Linked DNA regions of Homo sapiens: region 2 is linked to region 1. The links are contacts of gene promoters, found by promoter capture Hi-C in human tissues and cell types (Jung and others, 2019). All regions are on one chromosome and are shown on one strand. Each heading gives the region's core, a stretch centred on a gene start or on the middle of the fragment in contact. The rest is flanking DNA. Distances are from core to core; before and after follow the strand shown. Region 1 holds the start of GPR65 (G protein-coupled receptor 65). Region 2 overlaps KCNK10 (potassium two pore domain channel subfamily K member 10).

Region 1 (4,446 bases), core at 869-3,368:
TTCAATCCTCATGAAATCTGCAGATTTATGAAGCTTAGAAAATCCCAAATAGGATTAAAAACACAAAAATGGAAACCTATACTTAGACACATTGCAATAAAATTGCAGTTCACCAAAGACTAAGGAAAAAAGAGCCAGAGAGGAAAGATGGACTACCTATGAAGGATGGAATTTAGACGGACAAAAGACTTCTCAACAGCGATAACAGACAGCAGAAGATTAAAAGTTCCAAATTGCTAAGAAAATATATGTCATCCTATAATTATATACTCAACAGAACTAAATTTCAAGGACCAGAGCAAGAATTAGGACATTTTCAGGTAAACTACCACTCAGAACATTTACATCCAAAATCCCCACTAAAGAAACTTCTAAAGGATATAACTGAAGTAGGAAAAGGACACTAGGGTAATGTCTGCGATGCAGGAAGATTGAATCAGCCCCCGCGGATGGGACTCTGATGCACACACAACACGTCCAACACCAGGCTCATGTGTCTTGGGAAGAACACCTGAACCATGAAAACATCCTCCCCTTAAGACCAGGACCGAGAAAGTCGGGTAATGGGCAGCATGTGCCTCTTCCTCCTTTGTCCGTGTTACTCAATAGATAGTCATCATTTTCTTTAAAAATGGTATGACAGATTAAATGAAAAAATGATTTTTAGAAAGGTTTATAAAGTTTTCAATGGAATACATTTCTCTAGCTGTAAAAGCATTTCCTGCCTTGACTTAACCACAAGACAGGATGGGTTGATGAAGCAGAGGCCCTCTTCTTTGTAGTGACGCAGAGGCAGTACAGGCTTGTGGTTAAGAGCGTGGGCTCTGGAGACAATTCGAATGCCTCTCAACAGCACTCTGGGCCCATTGGTGTTTCTTCACCTCTCTAAGTTCCAGTTTTCACATGTGTAAGTTAGTACCCAGTTTCTAAGATTGTTGTGAGGGTTAAATGAAACGACATATGAAGCAAAGTTCCTAGCACATGGGAGGCATTCACTGTACGTTAGCTGGTAATATTGTTTTAATGACATTGGTAGTCTGCACCAATCTTTGTGCTGTCCCCTACATTTTCTGAAAAGAAATCATCTTTAGTCATCTAGCCACAGCATAGCAGAAAAGCTGGAGGTGCTCAGAGTGTAATTTATATGGTAACACTTCACGTATAATACTAGGCTCTGCAGATAATAGTTGTTCATTTAATTTGGGTGGATCTGAGATTTTAGTGGAATACTGTATATAATTCCTATTACAGTATTCACATATCTTTTCAGATATTATTTTGCCTCCTTTAATCAAATTTTGAGAAAATTGTTTTTAGAACAAGCACTGAGAAATTTTGGTGAGTTTTTAATTTTTTAATTTTTACCAGATGTCAAAAAAGACAATCTACAGTATATTAAAGTATATCTATTCTTGAACAGATCTAAAAATAGTACAAATCATTGATGACGATGACCAAAAGTACAATATTTTCCTACAGTGTTATAGAAAATGCTTGCTTTCATCTATCAGTTTAATAGTTACTTATTAAGACTCTACTATATATTTCAGGCACTGTGGTAGTCACTTATTAACTAATAATTATTACTTGACATTTATTAATACTGGAAATATTCTTTCCTAATATCACATTTTTTTCTGATGGATATAAAAAGTATTTACTGGACCATTGTACAGATGAGGGATTGGTGCCAGATAGCTCTAAAGCCAGGGGCTGGTAGGCTTCTTCCTAATACTGAATGAAGTTTGCCAAAGCACTGTTTCCTGAAAAGAAAATAAAGTATGAACAACCCCCTTTTTCTATATCTATGGTTTTGCCTAATTAGTTCTAAATTTAAAGTTTGGCCCTTTACCACTGCTCAAAGTAGAGGAAACCATGTGTCTTCCTCATTTCTTTCTCTCTTATCATGCTTTGCATTACCACATTTATACAGCCTAAACCAGGAAGAATGTTGCGAACATCACTGACAATTATGCCAAAGCATGTTATCTACTTTAAAATATTATTTTATTTTTTAATCTTATACTTACCCATATTTCTTCCGGTGATGTGTTTGTTGACTGAGGAGCTTGATAAATCTGTGCCTGCATCAAGTCAAGAAGAGAAACCAACACTGCTGAGGGGACAGGAAATTGCACTCATATTTCAGCACAAACCAATGAGGAAGCAGCATCTCAATGAGAAGGGTGTGCGTTATCCAAGTTTGAACAAAAAAAGTCTCTTAAATACTTTTAAAGATGTTTTTATTTATTGTTTACTGTACTGTAATTTTTATAACTCACTTGTCTCATTGCATCTTAATTACAAGTATGTACTGATATTATATTATATGCCCTTTACTTAATGGAATATATGTTAAATATTTTATTTATTTCTTTGTTCATTCATTCATTCATTCATTCATTCACTCATCATGCCAGCAGTGTGCGGGGAGATGTATACGAACTGGCTATCAACCAAAAGCAGCTTTTTTTACCTAGTAAAGGAGAAAGACATGTTTAATAATGATTGTAATGCAATGGCAAAATGAAGAAGTACTTCAAGAGGGGTACAGATAAAATAGAATGAACCATTTGGATGTGTGAGATAGGGGAGGATATTGTAGGTAGATTCAGGGTGATAAAGTTCCTGGGACAAAAACAGAAAAGGGAGAATTGAGGCTGAGGGGTTTAATGATGGATATTGTGCTGCTTAAGGCAGGGGTTAAGGTAGCCAACCTCATACCGTCTTTCTTTTCTTTTTTTTTTTGAGAGACTAATGGGATTAGATATATAGTATTTGATTGTAGAACTATTTTCTCCTTTGATTCTCTCCTCTTGGAAACAGAGATGGCTAAAAACCAGTTGAATTAACTAGCTGAGACAAATAATTTTATGAAACTTGAAAATTTTATTTAAGACTTACATTGTTATTATAAAAACTCTTGTACTTTAGCAAGTTAAAGTTAATGCCAAATCTATAAGTGGTTTAATATGAAGTGAAATTAGCTCCTATAACTTTCTTACTATTGATATATAAAAAAGTCAGAAATATCACTTTTGAATCTTGCCCTCATAAACTTTTATTAGAAATGAAGGGAAAATATTATTTGAAAGAACAGAATTTATTTGGGATGAAAACATTTGACTTAATTTTAAAGATGTAATCAGGACATTTTGAATCTGTGTTTGTTAAAGGACATTAAGGGTTGTTGCTGGTGTTTTTTTTTTGTTGTTTTTTTCTCCCTACCCAGAGATAGAAAAGATTAGCCTGTATATAAGCAAGGCTTTCCATATTGAAGTTGATCAGGGTATATCAGGAATGTAAAGATTTTCAATACTTCCGTTGTAGGTCTTTCTTTGAGAATAATAAAACTAATACCTTACATTTATAAAGCACAGGATAGTTTATAAAGTAATTTAGCATATAGTAAATTATAAATCAATATATTGTTACTGAAATAATAAAAATTAAGTATAAAGTAAAAAATTAACAATAAATGTCTTGAAGTTTTACAAAAATGAAAAGTAACGATTTCAGTTTACTTGTGACTGTAATTCAAAGTTCTCATTTTTGCTTGGTTTCGTACATCTGCTTATCTGTGGTTTCTATACATGATATATCTTTTTTTAAGTTCGGGGTACAAGTGCATTGTTACGTAGGTATTTCATTACTCTGATGATCTCTTACTTTATCTGAATAGACTATACTTCTGCTTTTAGGGAAAGGGTATTTTCATGTCCATATCTAATATTCATGTATTTTGCTTTTCAAAAGAAAAAGATTATCATTAAGAAACATAAGAAACACAAACTTTCACTTCTGATTAAAGAGGAGAAAAAGCTGGAGCTGACCTATGCTAAAACCTTGCCAACTCTACACAATAAGAAATTTACCAGCTTTTAAGAAATTTGCTTCTTAATATGGAAAATATGGCAATACTGTATTTTCAACTATAGGGCTATCTTTTATAATGAACGGTTAGAAATTTTAAATCATTGAGTCACTGTGACATTTTAACAACATAACAATGAGATAAAGACAATTAGTAGTTATTCAGAACACTGCCTTAACGGGGTTGGCATTTCTGACCAGTCAATTATTTGGTTTTCTGTGGTCACAATCTGGGGACCCAACACTGGCCAGTTGGGCTACTCATGGGGTAATGGGGAGGAGATTGTGGATCTACCTGGTTCCAACTTCTCCATTGGGCAGACAGTGCAAGAGTGTGTTCTACTGATGAAGGGGTCCTTTGTGAGGCCACACTATCTGCTAGGTGTAATTTCACTAGCTAAAGCGGCAACTAAATATGGCAGGGTAAGATTTTGAAATAATGCTATATTTTCCCAGCCACATTTCTTTTCACTCTAGCCCTACCCTTACACAATCAGTGAGCCATTTTGCATTTATTGCCTCAAGGAAATTTCTGGCACAAGCGGGGGGGAAAAAAAGAAGACAATGTGAGTT
Region 2 (4,446 bases), core at 1,397-3,896, 220 kb before region 1:
TGGAAGAGGTTGCAATCATCTGGACATCTGCTACTAAATTTAGGGACTTAGTCTCCCCTAATGAATTTCCGACTACAAATAGAGTATATGGTTCTCCTTCCCCTTGAAGCTGCGTCTCAAATGGACCATCAACAGATTCTGATACAGAGCCTTAGAAACCTCACATTTCATCTTTATGCTGATTGTCCACTCAGCTCCTTGCAGCACCATCAAAGATCAAGATTCTTTTAGGAAGGCGAGACAGTTGCATATTATTGAATTGGCAGTGCACAATGAATGCATTTGCTGAGTATTGGAGGGTGCTATTGGAAAGGGTGACCGAATTCCAGGGGGAATGTAAGCACACTTCCTAAATATACGAACAACTGATCCTGCAGCAGTTTGCTTGCTGCATGTAAAGTTTTGGTAGAAAATCTCAGTTTTCTGCCATTGATTTAAACTACATTTAAAAGTCCAATTACGTTTAGGTGGTTATTTGAGAAATGAAAATTGTATAAGCTAACAAAGCTTGGGGTTGTGAATTTTTAGTTCTCATGGGGGAAGGTTTATGTATTTCTTCTGCTCAATGAGTGTTAAGCCCTTCTCTTGATCTGTTATGTTTTCTCTCAGCTCTTGGGAAGAGAGGATTTACGGTGGAGTAAAAATAAAATCTAAAGTTGGCTTTCTGCCGGGCATGGTGGCTCACACCTGTAATCCTAGCAGTTTGGGAGGCTGAGGTGGGTGGATCACCTGAGGTCAGAAGTTCAAGACCATCCTGGCCAAGATGGTGAAACCCTGTCAGTACTAAAAATACAAAAATTTGCAGGGCACGGTGGTGCATGCCTGTAATCCCAGCTACTTGGGAGGCGGAGGCATTAGAATTGCTTGAACCCAGGAGGTGGAGGTTGCAGTGAGTTGAGATCGTGCCACTGCACTCCAACCTGGGTGACAGGGTGAGCCCCTGTATTAATCAATCAATCAATAAATAAAGTAAATATAAAGTTGGTCTTCAAGATGCCTGAATCCTGAGGTGACCCTGTTTTGGGTCCTTCCAACACATCCCAGGTCTGATCCTCATTTTAAAGAATTGCTGAGGGATATTGGATTACTTAGAAATGCTTTTGGTTGCAGAATAATAAAATGCCTGACTATTGGAGTTTTTATGACATGAATAAATAAGAATTCTTCTCCTCTGGAGTTCAGAACTAACTGTGAAATGGAGGAGTCAGATGGAGATCAAATTGCCAGCTTTATTGCTTATAAGCTGATCAGAGAATATAGCTTTAGCTTTGTTTCCGAAAGGGCTTACAGTCACTTTACCCTGAATTAGGACCTTGCTGCTGCATTAGTTTTTCTATTGCTGTGTAACATATGACTACAATCATAGAAGCTTAAAACAACACTTTTAAATGGCCTTCTTGCACCACCACTTAAAATGTTTAATTTTGCTCTCAGATGATGTTCAGAAACAAAGGAAAGGTAAAAGTAAAGGTGCCAAATTATTTGCAGATGTGCATAACCAAACCCAAATGAAACTAAAATAAGAATGCTCACAATTTTCTTTTTTTTTTTTTTTAAGTGGAGATGGGATTTCACTGTGTTGGCAAGGCTAGTCTGGAACTCCTGGCCTCAGGTGATCTGCCCTCCTTGGCCTCCCAGAGTGCTGGGATTACAGGCGTGAGCCACCACGCCCAGCCACACACATTTTTTTAAGCCGGGTGTACAGACCAAATAACATATTAAACTAGATGTAAAGAAAGAACCAAAAGTGAATTCACCAGAAAAGACATGCCACTAAGACAGAATGTAAATTCTGTAGAAACCAGAGTACTCAATGCAGAAGGATACTTTTCTACCAGAAAGTGCTTGCCAACAAACAAACAAACAAAAACGCCTTTTACAGACCCAAGAGGGATGCAAAGTTCTTTACTTAAGGCACCTTTTAGCCAAATCAAATCACATATAAAGTCAAAAAGAACTCGCCAAAGGGAGGGAGTCTGAGAATCTGAGAGGAGAGTCACCCAGACAGAAGAGGCAACAGACAGAAGCAGAGAGCAGAAAGGGCTCAGTCAGTACTGCACTCAGTTCCAGGGACCTCTCATTCCTCTGAGGTGCACTCACTTTGATCCCACTTCTGACACCATTTATGTCACCCTAAATAACATACAGACAGAGGCTCATTGAAAGAAAATGATATTTACTCAGGGATGGGCATTGCAGTGGTAACATACATGCCAGTTTAAACTATGTGTGCATTCAGGGAGGTAAAGCAAAAAAAAAAAAAAAAGGTTTTTAAAGGAAAAATGAACAGGATTACATAATTGTTTTGAGCTAATTATCCTTGAATACAAGGATCAATAACAAGGGTGATGCCAGTCCAAGGTTGGACAGTCAGTTGCTGGGTAGATGTCTTCGCAGAAATGCTTTTCTGCATAACGAGGTGATGGGTTTTGTGCAAGGTTGTAGTTTTTGCAGTCTTTTATGATAGCTCTTGTAATCAGGCATTTGTGCATGAGAATCCTTCCTTCCTGGCTTTCCCTGACTCTGTTTGTCAGAGTTTTAAGCACAAGTAACCCCATTTTGATTCTGACAATTTTCATACTCCCAACACTCATTAACAATGGGTTAAGAATTTGAACCCTTATCTCACATAGCAAGAAGCCTGGAGGTACGTTGACTCAGGCTTGTGCTATCAGCTCCACAATGTCAGGTGTATCCAGATTTGTTACCTCTTTCTGCTCTGTTTTCCTTGGCATGGTAGCTCTTCATCCTCAGACTTGTCACTCACATTGCAAGATGGCTGCTTCATGACCAAATAGCACGTTTTCACCCAACCTCATATCAGGAAATACAAAAGGAACTCCCTTAAAATTTATCTTTTTTTAGAGCAGTTGCATATTCACAGCAAAATGGAGGGGAAGATACAGAGATATCCCATATCCCCTTGCCCCTACACACATGTGCAGTCTCCCTCATTATCAACATCCCGCACCAGACTGGTACATTTGTTACAATTTATGAACCTACATTGATGCATCATTATCACCTAGAGTCCATAGTTTACATTAGGGTTCACTCTTGGTGTTGTAGAGTCTATGAATTTGGACAAATTTATAATGACATGCGTCTACCATTATAGTATCATACATAGTATTTCACTCTCCTAAAAATCCTCTGTACCCTGCTTGTTCATCAATCCCGTTCTCCTAACCTTTGACAATGACTCATGTTTTTATTAGTTTTGTCTTTTCCAGAATGTCATTAATATGGTTTGGCTGTGTCCCCACCCAAATCTCAACTTATATCTCCCAGAATTCCCATGTGTTGTGGGAGGGACCCAGGGGGAGGTAGTTGAATCATGGGGGCCAGTCTTTCCTGTGCTATTCTCATGATAGTGAATAAGCCTCACGAGATTTGATAGGCTTATCAGGGGTTTCTGCTTTTGCTTCTTCCTCATTTTTCTCTTGCTGCCACCATGTAAGAAATACCTTTCACCTCCCACCATGACTCTGAGGCCTCCCCAGCCATGTGGAACTGTAAGTCCAATTAAGCCTCTTTTTGTTCCCAGTTTCAGATATGTCTTTATCAGCAGCGTGAAAACGGACTTATACAGTTGTGTAGTTGCAATCATACTGTATGTAGCCTTTTCAGACTGGCTTATTTCACTTAAATATGGATAAAAGTTTCCTCTATGTCTTTTCATGGCTTGTAGTCCATTTCTGCTGGGTGGTGAATAATATTCCATTTTCTGGGTGTACCATAGTTTATGTATCCATTCACCTACTGAAGGACATCTTGTTTGCTTCTAAGTTTTGGTAATTACGAATAAAGCTGATATAAACCTCTGTGCACAGGTTTTTTGGTTGAACATTAGTTTTCAACTCCTTTAGTTAAATACAAAGATGTGTGATGACTGGATTGGATGGTAAGAATATGCTTAGGTGTATAAGAAATTGCCACACTGTCTTCCAAAGTGGCTATACAATTTTGTACTTCCACCAGCAATGAATGACAGTTCCTGTTGCTCCACATCCTCATCAGCATTTGCTGTTGTCGGTGTTCTGAATTTTCTCAATTCTAAGTGTGTAGTGGTATCTTGCTTTAATTTGCATTTCTCTGATGATGTATAATGTGGAGCATCTTTTCAGATGCTTACTTGCCATCTGTATATCTTCTTTGGTGAAGTGTCTGTTAAAGTCTTTGGCCTATTTTTTAATTGAGCTATTTGTTTCTTTATTGTTGAGATTTAATGTATAATGTGTAATGTATTATTATTATTATTATTATTATTATTGAGACAGAGTCTCACTCTGTCACCCAGGCTGGAGTGCAGTGGTATGATCTTGGCTCACTGCAACCTCTGCCTCCCAGGTTCAAGTGATTCTTCTGCCTCAGCCTCCCAAGTAGCTGGGATTACAGGCATGCACCACCATGCCTGGCTAATTTTTGTATTTTTAGTAGAGATGG

Evidence for each region. The method cuts DNA at HindIII sites, captures the fragments that hold promoters and counts their contacts. A contact is called where the count stands out against the background at its distance.
Region 2: a fragment that was not itself captured here is called in contact with the fragment with the promoter of GPR65 in region 1 in 2 of the 25 tissues and cell types used here (H1 embryonic stem cells and mesendoderm cells).

The regions. Positions count from the first base shown.
Region 1 is chr14:88,002,807-88,007,252 of GRCh38, reverse strand. It overlaps GPR65 (G protein-coupled receptor 65), which reads right to left and starts at 2,118. Exons shown (of 2, transcript NM_003608.4): 1 at 2,031-2,118. RefSeq lists enhancers at 674-733, 1,534-1,703. The HindIII fragment of the contact is 6,432 bases long and covers 1-4,446 here.
Region 2 is chr14:88,221,129-88,225,574 of GRCh38, reverse strand. All of the region lies in intron 4 of KCNK10 (potassium two pore domain channel subfamily K member 10), which reads left to right. Among named protein-coding and RNA genes, the nearest start is that of KCNK10-AS1, 63 kb to the right of the region's middle. The HindIII fragment of the contact is 3,416 bases long and covers 939-4,354 here.